Linked DNA regions of Homo sapiens: region 1 is linked to region 2. The links are contacts of gene promoters, found by promoter capture Hi-C in human tissues and cell types (Jung and others, 2019). All regions are on one chromosome and are shown on one strand. Each heading gives the region's core, a stretch centred on a gene start or on the middle of the fragment in contact. The rest is flanking DNA. Distances are from core to core; before and after follow the strand shown.

The links. Contacts are between HindIII fragments. The study calls those that stand out against the background at their distance.
Region 1: the fragment with the promoter of BRD3 here is called in contact with the fragment with the promoter of REXO4 in region 2 in 1 of the 25 tissues and cell types used here (IMR-90 fibroblasts).

The regions. Positions count from the first base shown.
Region 1 is chr9:134,065,352-134,072,596 of GRCh38, forward strand. It overlaps BRD3 (bromodomain containing 3), which reads right to left and starts at 2,675. Exons shown (of 12, transcript NM_007371.4): 1 at 2,594-2,675. RefSeq lists silencers at 2,121-2,370, 2,551-3,280. The HindIII fragment of the contact is 16,877 bases long and covers 1,120-7,245 here.
Region 2 is chr9:133,416,468-133,423,247 of GRCh38, forward strand. It overlaps REXO4 (REX4 homolog, 3'-5' exonuclease), which reads right to left and starts at 1,543. Exons shown (of 8, transcript NM_020385.4): 1 at 1,153-1,543. The coding sequence starts at 1,377. It overlaps ADAMTS13 (ADAM metallopeptidase with thrombospondin type 1 motif 13), which reads left to right and starts at 5,900. Exons shown (of 29, transcript NM_139027.6): 1 at 5,900-6,081; 2 at 6,634-6,700. The coding sequence starts at 5,977. RefSeq lists a silencer at 1,288-1,527 and enhancers at 1,638-1,857, 5,055-5,194, 5,425-5,474, 5,595-5,654. The HindIII fragment of the contact is 5,032 bases long and covers 1-4,382 here.

The sequences.
Region 1 (7,245 bases), core at 1,425-3,924, 650 kb after region 2:
AGGTAGAGGTTACAGTGGGCTGAGATCGTGCCACTGCACTCCAGCCTGGGCAACAATGCGAGACTCCATCTCAAGAGGAGAAGAGAAAAAAAAAAAAAAAGGAACCTGCCTAGGACAGGAACCCCGTCAGGTCAGTTATACTTTGATGACCGGTCAAGGAAGCAAGAGGAGGATCCTCTGACCAACTGCGTTAACTGCTTTGAAAACCAAGAGACCCGCAGCACGACTTCAGGCATGCCCCCACCTCCCAGGCAGCAACGCTGGGAAGAGTAGGCCCCGGTTCCCCATACCCCGCCCCGGTACCGTGTGTATCCACAGCAAAACATGGCTCTTCCCATCGACAACTGGGCATAGCTGTTGGTTTTGTGCCAATCACCCCACTTGGGAAACCCTGAGCCACCATGCCTCAGGGAAAGTGGTGGCACTTCCTGGTGGCACCAGGAATCGCACAAGGCCATCACTGCCGCCTGGTGCACAGGGCTCCCGCGGCTGGCATCTCCAGAGCCTGGAGGAAGAGGGTAGAGGAAGGTAGCACCGGCTGCAGCAGGCCTGGCTGCTTCGCTCTGCACACCCCCACTTTCACTTTCTGGGTATGACTACTTCGGAGTGTAGGGCAGGCACTGTTTGCAAGTCCCGTCCTTCATTCAAAGCTCACTCACTTCCGAAGCAGGCGCGAGCTGTTGTCAAAGGAAAGTAATTACTCTACTTTCTAAAAACAAAACAAAAATAAAAATGGAGTGACTGCCCACTCGGAGAAAGCTTTTGAAATCCCTCCTCCCCGGATGTCCCAACGGCAGGGCTCAGGCTGGAGCTGCTCCCACAGTCTTTCCAGGCACCCGGTGCCCTGCTGAGGCACCGGGCCTCTGAGGCTACCCGGAAGGTCAGAAAGAAATGCCCCTCGCTCGCCTGCAGCCCGTCCTGTTACAGCGTGTGCCTTATCTTTCATGATCAGTAACCACCAGCACCCATCAAGGCCTCAACAGAGAAAACGGCAAACACAGACCTTTATTTGCAAATGAGAGGCTGCATCAGGGCTGCCAGGGAAGAACCCGGAGGGAGGGCTCCCTAACCCCCGAGGCCAGCCCCTTGCAGGGGTTCAGACCTTCCTTAGACCCCGTTGGAAGCCAGTAACAAACTACTTTCCCCAGAAAAATGCCATACAACTTTGCATAGATTCCAGGATCTCCCCAGGCATACTACATGGACCCAGGAAAAAAAAAAAACCCTCCATTTTAAAGAAAAGAGTAAGGGGAAAAGCCTACAAAAGAGCAGGGTAAAAAGAAAACTCTTTTCCTCTTCTGTTCCTTCTCACAGGGTAGGGCGGGGGAGGACGGGACACACGAAGCTGCCTCTTGCAGTTCCAGCCCAATTACTCTGCCCACCAATGCACTACAGTCTCCCCTCCTGGTTAACTTTTGCAGACAATGACCAAGTTTAATGTAAGGGGGAGAAATCCCAGTATCTATTTCTGAGCAGAAAGCTTTCAACCAAAATTAAAGATCGCAACCACTCAAGGATTGGGTCGAACGGAGGAACCCACACGATGGACGCCGGGTCCCTGCCCCCGGTGGGTCTCGGCGGGCCGAGTTCTCGCCCTCCAGGGAAAGGAGGCCGCGCGAAGCCCCCATCCCGGCCCTGCCCCCGAACGAGCAACCGGTGGAATAAGACTTCCCGCACGCCCCAGCTTTATTCACAGAGAGCCCACCAGGGCCATGTGGGTGTACACGGTTCGGGGTGCGCATTTCTCCCCGGATGGGCTTGTATCACGTTGTCACTCCGGCGCCCCCCAAAAGTGGGAAGGAGGGGAAGCACCCCCGTCCCTCCCGCTCCAACTCGCCCTCGCCCGGATTAAGCGATTTTCAGGCTGATTTCAAAACGGGAACTGGGTCTCCCCCTGGTTTGGGTGCAATAATCCGGCAACTCAGGGGGGCTCAAAGTCAGCTCTGGGCCCGTAACTCTGGGAGGAGGCCGCGCAGAGCCCAGGGCCGAGCCCGGCCTTGCCCCCCGCCCCGGCCGCGGCGCGCGGCGACGGTCCCCAGGCGCGGGCCCCAGCAACGGCTCGGGAGCGAGGCCGGCGGAACAGGCGCGGGGAAAGTGGCCCCGCGGAGCGCACGGCCGCAGGCCGGGGCCGCCGCGCGCACCTTCCCCCTCCGCGTCCTCCCTGGGTTCCCCCTTCGAAAGATGGCGGGCGGAGGAAAGGGGGAAAAAAATCCCTTCCGTGAGGGAGGGCGCGCGGAGGCCGGGCTGGCGCGGGGCGCGCGGGCCGCGCCAACTCCGGGCTGCGCGCCCCGGCCGCAGCGACGCCCCGAGTCCGGGACGGAGGCGGCCAAGCGGGAGCGGGAGGAGGGGAGCGGAGCCCGCGCCACCGCCGCCGCCACCGCCGCCGCGACCCCGGGCGGCCGCCGCGCTTTGTTGCATCGTGGCCGCGCACAAAGGCGGCGGCGGCGGCGGCGGCCCCGGGCGCCCGGTTCACCCGGACGCGCCGGCGGACTGCGCGGGGCGCTCGGGGCCGCGCTCCCCGGCCCAGCCCGGCCCGCCGCCGCCCGCGCCGCCCGCCGCCCCGCGCGCGCAAGGAAGCAAGAGAAAGGCGTACTTGGCCTCGCGGCTCCGGCGGCCGTCCCCTCCCGGCCCGCGCGGCCGGCTCCTCTTTGGCTCGCCGGCCCCGGCAGCATAATAGACGCGCCGGAGCCGAGCAGGGCTCATGCGCTGCGCCGCGGCGCCTGGCGGGAGTCGTAGTCCGCGGCCGGGCCCGCGCCGGGGCCGCCCAGGGGAGGCCGCGGGCGCGCGGACTACATGTCCCGGCCCCGCCGGCGCCGCGCCCCGCCCCGGGGGCCCCCGCCCGCCCCGCCGACCCGGCCGAGAGCGGGCCTGGCCCGGGGGGCGCGCGGGGGCGGGGCTCGGCGCCCGCCCGGCAGGGCAACAACGCTGGGACCCCGTGGGCCGTTCCCCGCCCGGGCCCGCACGGCTCTCCTCACCCCGTGTCGGGGACAGCGCCTGGCGGCGGATTTTCCGGTGCCCCAGGACGGCATGGAAGAAGCGGGCACGCAGCCAGCACCGCAGCCCCCGTCCGGGCACCCCGAGGCCCGCGGGAGCCACCCTCGAACCCCGGCCGCGCACGGGCGGGGCGGCGCGCACCTGCCGGGAGCCCGTGTTTGTAAACAAACCGCGCGCCTAATTAGCCTGGCGGGAGCGCGCGCGCGGGGCGGGGGGCGGGGCGTCGGTGCGCGCGGGCAGGTCGGCCCCGCCCGGGGAGGAGCCGCGCTCTGCCGCGCCCTCCGTGTCACCATCTCCCCCACCCGACTTGCTGGGGCGCGGGCGCCCAAGTTCGCTGTTGCTGGAGAGGGCGCCAAGTCCCCAGAGCTGGCGAAGAGTTAGGGGTGCTCCCAGCTCTGCCTGGGGACCTTCTCGCCCCAAGCCCCGGTTTCCCCATCTGCCCAGTGAGGGGCGGGAACTAGATACCAGGTTCCCAGCCTGAGATTCCGGGAGAGGGCCACCCCTGGCCCTTTTTCTGTATCTTGAAAGGTTCAGCCCGTGGACACGTTTTGCATCTTGTTTTGGGTGATGACGACTCGGGTTTACACATAAATCAAGTTGTGGGGGGGGGGGTTTTGTTGTTTTTTTGGTTTTTGTTTTTTTTTTTTTTTTTTGAGACGTTAGTTTCGCTCTTGTCACCCAGGCTGGAGTGCTGTAGTGTAGTGAGTGGCTCGATCTCGGCTCACTGCAACGTCCGCCTCCCGGGTTCAAGCCATTCTCCTGGCTCAGCCTCCCGAGTAGCTGAGATTACAGGCACCCGCCACCACGCCCGGCTAATTTTTGTATTTTTTAGTAGAGATGGGGTTTCACCGTGTTGACTGGGCTGTTCTCAAACTCCTGACGTGAGATGATCCGCCCACCGCGGACTCCCAAAGTGCTGGGATTACAAGCGTGAGCCAACGCACCCGGCCACATAAATCAATTTTAATCCAGCTGTAACTTAAGGTGGTTACACGTTGTGTACATTAGACCCCAATAAAAACGTCAAAAACAAAACGAGGTTCCTTGGTGCCTGCTGAACCTGCCAACTGCAAGGTCGAGTTTCCTTGTGTGGGCTGCACCCACCCCAAGCCCCTGGGGTCCCCAGGTGTGTTCCAAGTTGAGCAGCAGCTCCACTGCCTGAAATGCACACATCTATGCAATATTCACAAAGTGAGTGCCAGCACAGAGACAATTCATCCCCATGCTCACCCAGAAGGCAGGTGTTCTGTTCCAGGCTGACAGGTAAGGAAACAGGCTCAGTGAGGCAAAGGGTCCTGCCCAAGGTCACAGAGCCAATTTGCAGGACGGCTGAGACCCAAAGCCCCGGGGTCTTAGGAAGAGTTTGCAGGGGAAGCCAACACCTTTCCCAATCCTGTCCCTCTGTTTCTGCTGGGAGCCCAGGACCTTCTCACACTCCAGGGCAAGGCTCTAGGACGAGGTTCCAGCCTTGCCTTTCTAGTTGGCAAAATGGACAAAGTGCAGTCCTCAGGCGCAGGAAGGTCGGGGAGGGGGAATATGAGAGGTGAGGATCTGCAGGCAGTTCCCTTAGAACTACCATCCTGGTTGTGTCCCCAAACCCCCGGTGCAGTTCCTCAACCTACAGGCTTCTGTGTTAGCCACCTTGGAGGCTGCAACCCATTCCTGCTGTCTGCATCTCATCTCCTTGGGTATCTTGAGCACTCTGACCACCAGGATGGCCACCTCACCACTTACACAGACCCCACTGCACTCCTCCCAAGGCTAGAACAAAAAGCCTTTCCGCCTGGTCTTGACCTCAAGGAACCCAGGTACATGCACACAGCAGGCTGCCCTGACCAGCCAGCGTGTCTGAGGCTGCTGACCAAATGCCCCCAACCCTTATGGGCCTCCCACTGCCCTAAGGTGACCCCCAGGAGTATGGCAGGAACCCAGGCGCTCCCTGGGCACTGGCTCTGATGGAAGCACCAAGGTCCCCTTCTTTCCCTTCCCGCTGCTCACCCACACATGAGTGGCCCGGATGGCTCCATGGAGCCAACTTTCCCGAGGCTGGAGAAGTCTCTAGGAAGCAGAATCTGTAAGGGAACAGGACAGAAACTCTCATTTGAGCATCTCAGCCCCTGTGCTACTATCTCTGAAGACTAGTTTAGGGGCCACAGTGGCAAACAGCTGAAAGCCAGCAGGGCTGCCATTGAGAAGGGATTTGGGGTGGCTCTGCAGTCCCCTCCAGCCCCTAGCAGCCCATCATCCTCTCCCTTCCTGCTCAGGCTCTTGGAATTTTAACCTCTGGTACTGCTGAATTTCCCAAGTGAAGCCACTTAATCTCCCCGACCCAGGTTTCCTCCCCTGTCACAGGAGGATAAAAATAGAACCTGATCCCGCAGCTCTGGTAAGGGAGGGGGGCATGTGCAAAGGTTGGGGCTGTGATCAGGAGCAGGCTGCTGCCTTTGCCTCCTTGGCCATCACTCACCTCTCTACCTTCACGTTTTACTTCCTGAGCCTCCTTGTGGGCTGTCTCACGGCTCCATGAGAGCAGAGCACTTTGTCCATGAGGTATCCCTAAACATCCTTCAACAGTATCTGGCACCTAGTGGGTGCTCAATACATAGTTGTTGAATGAATAAATGTTCTCTTCTGCACCTCTGTCCTGCCCTCCAGCCTCCATCTGCAAACCTCAGTGTAGCCCAAGCTCTACCAGTGAAGCAGCCACCTGCTCACATCTAAAGGAGGACCCAGAGCCAGGCTCCAGCCAGTACAGGAGCCAGGGCCTCAGCTGCCTCCTCCTCCTTCACCCACAATGCCCCTTAAGGCAGCAGTCCCCAGCCTTTTTGGCAACAGGGACCAGTTTCATGGAAGACAATTTTTCCACGGATGAGTGGGGGCAGATAATGGTTTTGGCATGAAACTGTTCCGCCTCAGATCATCAGGCATTAGATTCTCATAAGGAGCTCACAACCTAGATCCCTCACGTGCGCAGTTCAGAGTACGGTTTGCGCTCCTGTGAGAATCTGATGCAGCTGCTGATCTGACAGGAGCCGGAGCGCAGGCGGGAATGCTGGCTCACAAGTACTCACCTCCTGCTGTGTGGCCCCGTTCCTAACAGGCCACGGACCAGTAACAGTCCAAGGCCCAGGGGTTGGGAATCCTGCCTTAAGGCGCAGAGCAGTTACATCATGGCACTGAAGTTTATACATCAGTTTCTTGAAAGTTTCATTATCATGTGTCTTTCCCCAGGACTGACCAGCTCTCAGCACAACTTTTTAAGAAAATGAATTTCTGTCTCCACCAAGCAGAGGCTGGGCTACAGAGAACTCTGGAGGGTGGAGGAGCAGAGGTTTTTAATTATACAATAATTTAGTGCCTACTATGTGCCAGGCCCTGTGTCAAGAGCCTTATGTACACCATTTTACTGAATCCTGGAACAGTTCTATGACGTAGGGATGATTATGTCTACTTTACAGGTGAAAATGGAGGCAAAGTTAGGTTAAATTACTAGCCTGAGCCATGAACCCAAATGTGGGTTCATATTTCATTTACAAAATATATTCCAGAAGACTGCACCTTGGTAGGGGAAGGTGAGGCATTTAACTTGAGGAAGCAAATGCCCAGATCTAAGTTCATTAAACTTCTCTTAGAAAAGGGTGGGAGGCCGGGCACCGTGGTCCATACCTGTAATCCCAGCACTTTGGGAGGCCAAGGTGGGCGGATCACCTGAGGTTGGGAGTTCGAGACCAGCCTGACCAACATGGAGAAACCCTGTCTTTACTAAAAATACAAAATTAGCCAGGCGTGGTGGCTCATGTCTGTAATCCCAGCTACTCAGGAGGCTGAGGCAGGAGATTTGCTTGAACCCGGGAGGCAGAGGTTGCGGTGAGCCAAGATCGTGCCATTGCACTCCAGCCTGGGCAACAAGAGCGAAACTCTGTCTCAAAAAAATAAAAAGAAAAGGGTGAGGAGCCCCATGGAAAGGAGGGAACTTGGAGTTGAGTCTTCTCACTTTCCTGTTCTTCCTGTCCCCAACATGGAAAATTGTTTGCACAAAAATCATAGCAAAATCCTTAAAGGCATAGAGTGGAAAGGTCTCTGGTATAACCTAGGAGCCCCGGTGAACAGGGAGAGAGAGCTGTGCTGCAGCTGCATAAATGTGCTTGCAGAAAGACAGTCAAAAGGAGGCAGGCAGGACAAGAAGACAGGTGGGCCGGGCTCAGGGGCTCACACCTGCAGTCCCACAGTTTGGGAGGCTGAGGTGGGGGA
Region 2 (6,780 bases), core at 293-2,792:
CTCCCAAAGTGCTGGGATTACACGTGTGGGCTACTCGGGAGGCTGAGGCAGGAGAATCACTGGAGCCCAGGCAGCAGTGAGCTATGATCCTAACAGGAGGTAGCTCCAAGGGAGCTCCAAGGGATGTGGTAAGAATGTATGAGTGACGCACGTGGAAGAGTGTCTAGGAGAGAGCAGGCAACCTCTACAGAAGTGCAGGTCACTAGGGAGACAGCAGGTACAACACAGCCTTAAAAGCATGGACTCCAGAGTCAGCCACCTGGTTCCCAGCCGCAATCTTAGATGATCTATTTAAACTTTTCCAGCCTATTTCCTCATCTGTACAATAGCGATGATGGAAGTGTCCACCTCACAGTCTTATTGTGGGGATTGCAACACGCATGGCATAGAGCACATGGCAGAGTGCACATTTTTAGGAGCTCAATTAGTATTTACTTCAAGACCGTAAGTGTCGCTAGAACCCCATCACATGTCTGCTATCTGCTTTTCACTTCTACACAGGAATCTTCTTTCTCCCTGTCTTGCTACACAGACCAGTGTGTTCTTTCGTTGTTGTTGTTTGAGATGGAGTCTCGCTCTGTCGCCCAGGCTGGAGTGCAGTGGCGCGATTTCGGCTTACTACTGCCTCTGCCTCCCGGGTTCAAGCGATTCTTCTGCCTCAGGCTCCCCGAGTAGCTGCGACTACCGGCGCGCGCCATCACGCCCGGCTAATATTTTTTGTACTTTTTTAGTAGACACGGGGTTTCACCATGTTGGCCGGGCTGGTCTTGAACTCTTGACCTCAGGGGATCTGCCCGCCTCGGCCTCCCAAAGTGCTGGGATCACAGGCGTGAGGCCCCGCGCCCGGCCTGGTTTCGGGATTTTAAGCTAAATTTCTCTTTGTAAAATCCATTCTAGTTAGTTCATTATGCAAAAGGTACAAGGGTTTATCTTTGCTTTTTTGTACTTGAAATAATTCTTTCATCAATTTCTTTCAAGCAAACAAGTTCGAGACCTCCCTCAACAGGCCACCTTTCTTGTGAAAAGCTGTTTACAAGATTTCGATTCAAATCTGCCTTTACAGGTCTTTTGGGGCTACCCAAGTCTTTCCCTCCGTCGCGTTCTGCGGGAATGAGCTGCGCAGCGCTCCGCCCGGGCCCCCTCAAGCCTCACCTCTTGCAGCGCCTTCCAGTTTTGAGAAAAGTCTTCTGGTGCCTTTGGAGGTCGCACCACAGCACCGGGGCCGCTTGCTGGCTTCTTGCTTACTTCCCGCGCCTTGCTTTTCCAAAACCTTTTTTTCTTCTTGTTTTTCTTCCGAGTGAGCGTCTTGACAGGACCCGGCTTAGCCACGGGGCTGCTCGGGGCGCGCTTGGAGGCGGGGACCTTCGCCTTCCCCATCCTGCTGCCGTCCAGCGCCTGGGCCGGCGGCCACCCGAGACCCCGGCCTCCCCGGGCCCGGCGCCCTGGCAGCACAAGCGCCTGCCCAGGCCAGGCCGAAACACACCCACCGCAGGGACCCCGTCCAGGAAAAGACTCCGGAAGAGACCCCGCACGCGTTGCGCATACCTCAGCACGCACGCTCCAGTCCCCGGAAGCGCTCGTCTCTCCACAACCGGCTGGAAACCGGATCCCTGCCTCTGGTTCCGCGCAGCCTGGGCGGTTCACCCGCACGGGACTTGGGCCGCCGCCTTAGCCAGCGGCATCCGGGGTCATCGACCTCGAGTTTGACTGGGGCAAGCCGAGGACCTCCCCAAGATCCGGGATGGGGATGAGAGATGCGAACGCCGGAAGGGAACTGGGGGGCCGCTGTGTGTGTAGCACCTGGTAGGGCAGCTGAGCTGGGGGCACTGGGCGGTGGGGCTAGTGAGAGCCGGGCTAGGTCGCTCGCCTGCGTCCTGGACTCTCGAGCCTTTCCCGCCTTGGGCTGCTCCTTGCTCAGCCTCACAGCGGCTCATCTTCCACGTACAGTGGGGAAACTGAGGCCCAGGCACCGGGAGGAGTTCCTGCCAGTTCACTCTGTAGCAGGACGAGCCGCAGACAAGAACCCCTCAGACACCGAATTGTAGAAGGAAAGGGCTTTATTTAGTGGGGAGCATCGGCAGACTCACGTCTCCAAAAACCGAGCTCTCTGAGTGAGCAATTCCTGTCCCTTTTAAGGGCTTACAACCCTAAGGGGGTCTGTGTGAGAGGGTCGTGATCGATTGAGCAAGCAGGGGGTACGTGACTGGGGGCTGCATGCACCGGTAATCAGAACGCAACAGAACAGGACAGGGATTTTCACAATGCTTTTCCATACAATGTCTGAAATCTATAGATAACATAACCGGTTAGGTCAAGGATTGATCTTTAACCAGGCCCAGGGCGCGGCGCCGGGCTGTCTGCCTGTGGATTTTATTTCTGCCTTTTAGTTTTTACTTCTTTATTTGGAAGCAGAAATTGGGCATAAGACAATATGAGGGGTGGTCTCCTCCCTTACTTCTGCCGCCTGGGTTCAAGCGATTCTCCTGCCTCAGCCTCCTGAGTAGCTGGGACTATAGGTGCACGCCACCACTCTCTGCCAATTTTTGTATTTTTAGTAGACCTGGGGTTTCGCCACGTTGGCCAGGCTGTCTTGAACTCCTGACCTCCAGTGATCCATCCGCCTCGGCCTCCCAAAGCGCTGGGATTACAGGTGTGAGCCACCGTGCCCGGCCGGGAGTGGGTAGATTTGATGTGCGTGTGTAACAGGCAGAGGTTGATGGAGTAACAGGGAAGTGAGGCTCCTAGGATTTTGGTCTGAGCAATTGGGTGTGGCCATTTATCATCTCAATAAATGTCTGCGGGGAGCAGGGTGAAGTATGGGGGTGGAGCCATGAGCTCCTTTTCACACTTGCTGAGTTTGAACGGGCCGTCAGTCACCAAGGAGAGACGTCTAATCAGCAGCAGGATATAAGATTCCTAAGCTTAGGGAAGGGTCAGTGCTGGAGATGTAATTTGGAAATCGTCAGCACATAATTAGTGTTGAAACATGAACCTGGGTTAGTTCATCCAAAGAGAGAGTACCAATATAGGGAGTGAAGGGTTAAGACCAGATAGCAGGTGCTGGGGGCTCTCCAGGGGCGAAGCAGCAGAGGAGGCTGAGGGGGAGCAGTCAGTGCAGTGGGAGGAGAAGCGGATGTGAGTGGCATCAGAGAATCCAGGGGGAGAATAAACCACATCAGATGCTGCTGAGAGGCTGAGAAGGACGAGGACAGAGAGATGGGAACCAGATATGGCACTGAGATTGTCAGCAAGTCCACCGAAAAGGGTTTTCTTTTTTTTTGTTTGTTTTGAGACGGAGTCTTGCTCTGCTGCCCAGGCTGGAGTGCAGTGGCGTGATATCGGCTCACCACAATCTCCACCTCCCGGGTTCAAGCGATTCTCCTGCCTCAGCCTCCTGGGTAGCTGGAACTACAGGTGCACGCCACCATGCCCAGCTAATTTTTTTTTTTTTTTTGAGACGAAGTTATGCTCTTGTCGCCCAGGCTGGAGTGCAATGGCGCAATCTCGGCTCACCGCAACCTCCACCTCCCGGGTTCAAGTGATTCTTCTGCCTCAGCCTCCCGAGTAGCTGGGATTACAGGCATGTGCCACCACGCCCGGCTAATTTTGTACTTTTAGTAGAGATGGGGTTTCTCCATGTTGGCCAGGCTGGTATGGATCTCCAGACATCAGGTGATCCTCTCGCCTCAGCCTCCCAAAGTGTTGGGATTACAGGCGTGAGCCACCGCACCTAGCCTAATTTTTGTATTTTTGAAAAGAGACGGGGTTTCACTATGCTGGCCAGGCTGATCTCGAACTCCTGACCTCATGATCCGCGTGCCTCGTGATCCACCTGCCTCGGCCTCCCAAAGTGCTGGGATTAAAGGCGTGAGCCACCACACCTGGCCCAGGTTTTCTTTTTAAAAAAGGAAAAAAACTTTGTTCCAGCAGTTTGTAAACCAGGGCAATGCAGCCTTCTGTACAAAGGTGCATTCCAGGGAACAAAGAGAACAAAGAAAGAGGTCGTCTTTTGTAGAGAACTTCCTGCCCAGGTTCCCACTTTGGTCCACTTATGCAAATGAGGAAGGCACACTTGCTTAGTTCTGATTGGTTAATACTTGCTGAGTTCAGATTGGTCGATGCAGGTCACAGTCGATGGGTTGATTCTGGCGGCATAAACAGGAACAGATAGCTGTGAAACCATCCCAGAGTTAAGTGAGAGTGGGGGCTTTCCAGGAACGCAGAATGTGTGTGTGACCCTAGTCAGCAAATGGCTGCTAGGTCCTACTTTGAATTTAGGCCCAGTTAGTAACTTGGGATCCATCAAGAAGGATTGGCTCTTTCAGGGTTCACAAAGTTATTGGTGACCTTTTAAAGATCAATTTCAATGGTATGTGGGAATTGAAGGCAAGGAAGTGGAGATAGCCACTGAAAATAATGTTTCTAAGTTCTTAAAGACAGCCAGAAACAGGGCTATGGCAGGAGGACAGTGTGGGTCAAGGGAAGGTTGTTGATTGTAATCAAGAGACACCAGAGTGTCTGGGCTTGGTGGCTCATGCCTGTAATCCCAGCACTTTGGGAGGCCGAGGCAGTCAGCTCACCTGAGGTCAGGAGTTTGAGACCAGCTTGGCCAACATGGCGAAACCCCACCTCTACTAAAAATACAAAAACTAGCCAGGCGTGATGGCGGGTGCCTGTAATCCCAGCCACAAGGGAGGCTGAGGCAGGAGAATCACTTGAACCTGGGTGGCGGAGGTTGCAGTGAGCCGAGATCGTGCCACTGCACTCCAGCCTGGGTGACACAGCAAGACTCTGTCTCAAAAAACAAACAAAAACCAAAAAGAGACAGGAGAGTCATTCATGCTGATGGAGTGAGCCAGGTACCAGGATCTCGATATCTAAGCATGCCCCCTTCTCCAACAGCCTCCTTACCTTCCTGCATGAAAGCACACCCTTCCCTCCAGTCCCCCATTCCTTTATTCTGCTGTATTTTTCTCCATAACACTTACCACCTTTGAACATACTACATATACAACATGTGTCTGTCTAGCAACTTTGCTGTCTGGCTCTCTTCCCTAGAATTTAAGCTGTGAGAGGCCGAGGCTGCTGTCTGCCTGGCTTGGGGCTGCTTTCCTGGTGTCTAGCACAGAGCCTGGCCTGTTTCAGGGGCTCAGTGAAACATTTGTTGGCTGAAGGAATGAATGAATGGCTCTAGCAGAGGGGCAGAAACTAACGATGCAGGAGGAGAGAGCTGGGAAGGGATCCAGAGCCAGGGCCTGGCAGGAAGTGTAGGTGTGTCCTCCCTGATCGCAGAGGAGGAGAGAGGCTGCACTTTGAGGGGTGGAAAGACAAGGTGAATCCCCCTGCTGGTCATCAGCTTGTGCGGCTCTGTGGGTGTAAAAGAGTGGTTTGGAGCATGTGAAGTGAGTCTTCCAGGAGATGAAGGGGATTGCCAGGCCGTTTGTGATGATGCTGAGATCTGGTGCCGTGCAGCCTGCTTCTGCGACTCTCCTCATCAGGCGCAGGCACAGAGTAGGTGGAGAGTTGAGCCAGAACCACGATGTCTTTGGCACAGCCTCTCATCTGTCAGATGGGAGCGGGGACCCCGGAGAGGGAGTCAGCCGAGGTCCTGGCATTCCTTGTGAACCCCCGTCTGTGGGTTTCTGGTCCAGTGTCCCTTCTCCAGATTAGATGGCTTAGGCCTCCTCTAAGGGGGTGGGCGTGCACATCCGGAGAGCTGTCTGGTGTGCAGGACTGGGCTGCAGGTTACCCTGAACTGCAACCATCTTAGAGCAAGGCCCAGCTTGCAGCAGGAGGAGCTGCAGGCCGCCCACCCTAGCCACGGCCCCTGCCCTGGCAGGAAGCTTCCAAGAGTAAACACTGCCTAATCGTCCCGCCCAGTAGTGAGCAGGCCTGTCCCATTCCATACTGACCAGATTCCCAGTCACCAAGGCCCCCTCTCACTCCGCTCCACTCCTCGGGCTGGCTCTCCTGAGGATGCACCAGCGTCACCCCCGGGCAAGATGCCCTCCCCTCTGTGTGGCCGGAATCCTTGCCTGTGGCTTTCTCCTGGGCTGCTGGGGACCCTCCCATTTCCAGCAGGTGGGCTCATTTGCAGGAGCGGGGGTATTCTGGGAGCCTCTGGGTGGGGTATTCTGAGCTACCTGGGGCGAGGGGAGTGCCAAATAGCTGACTACATCAGCTTTGGGGTTTGCGCTGGGCAGGGGAGTCTGTACTTGGGGCTTTGGGGGATGAAGTGTGCTCACTGAAGAGGGAGTTGGTGTCTCAGTACGACCTGCTCATTCGGTGAAGCTGAACAGACAGATACTAGTTTGTCCCAAACTGTGTAGGTTGCTCTTCTCTGCCTCTCCCTTCCTCTCCCTGTCTCTGATTTCCCCCTCTCCTTCTTGGTTGGCCTCACCCACCTCCTGCCTCCTGTCTCCCTCTTCATCCATCTCTTTTTGTTCTTTTTTCTTTCTCTCTCTCTCTTTTTTTTTTTTTTTTTTTTTTTAAGACATGGGGTCTTGTTATGTTGCCCCAGCTGGTCTCAAACTCCTGGACTCAAGTGATCCTCCCACCTCGGTCTCCCCAAGTGTTAGGATTACAGGCCAGAGCCACTATGCCCGGCCCCATCCATCTCTTTTTGTCTTGCAGAGTTGTCTTCAGGCTTTGGAGCCACAGGCCGTGTCTTCTTACTTGAGCCCTGGTGCTCCCTTAAAAGGTACTTGTCCTGGTGTCTTCTCTCCCGGGGGGAGTTTCTCAGGACTTTCAAGGGGTATCTCACCACTGAGTCAGTGGTCT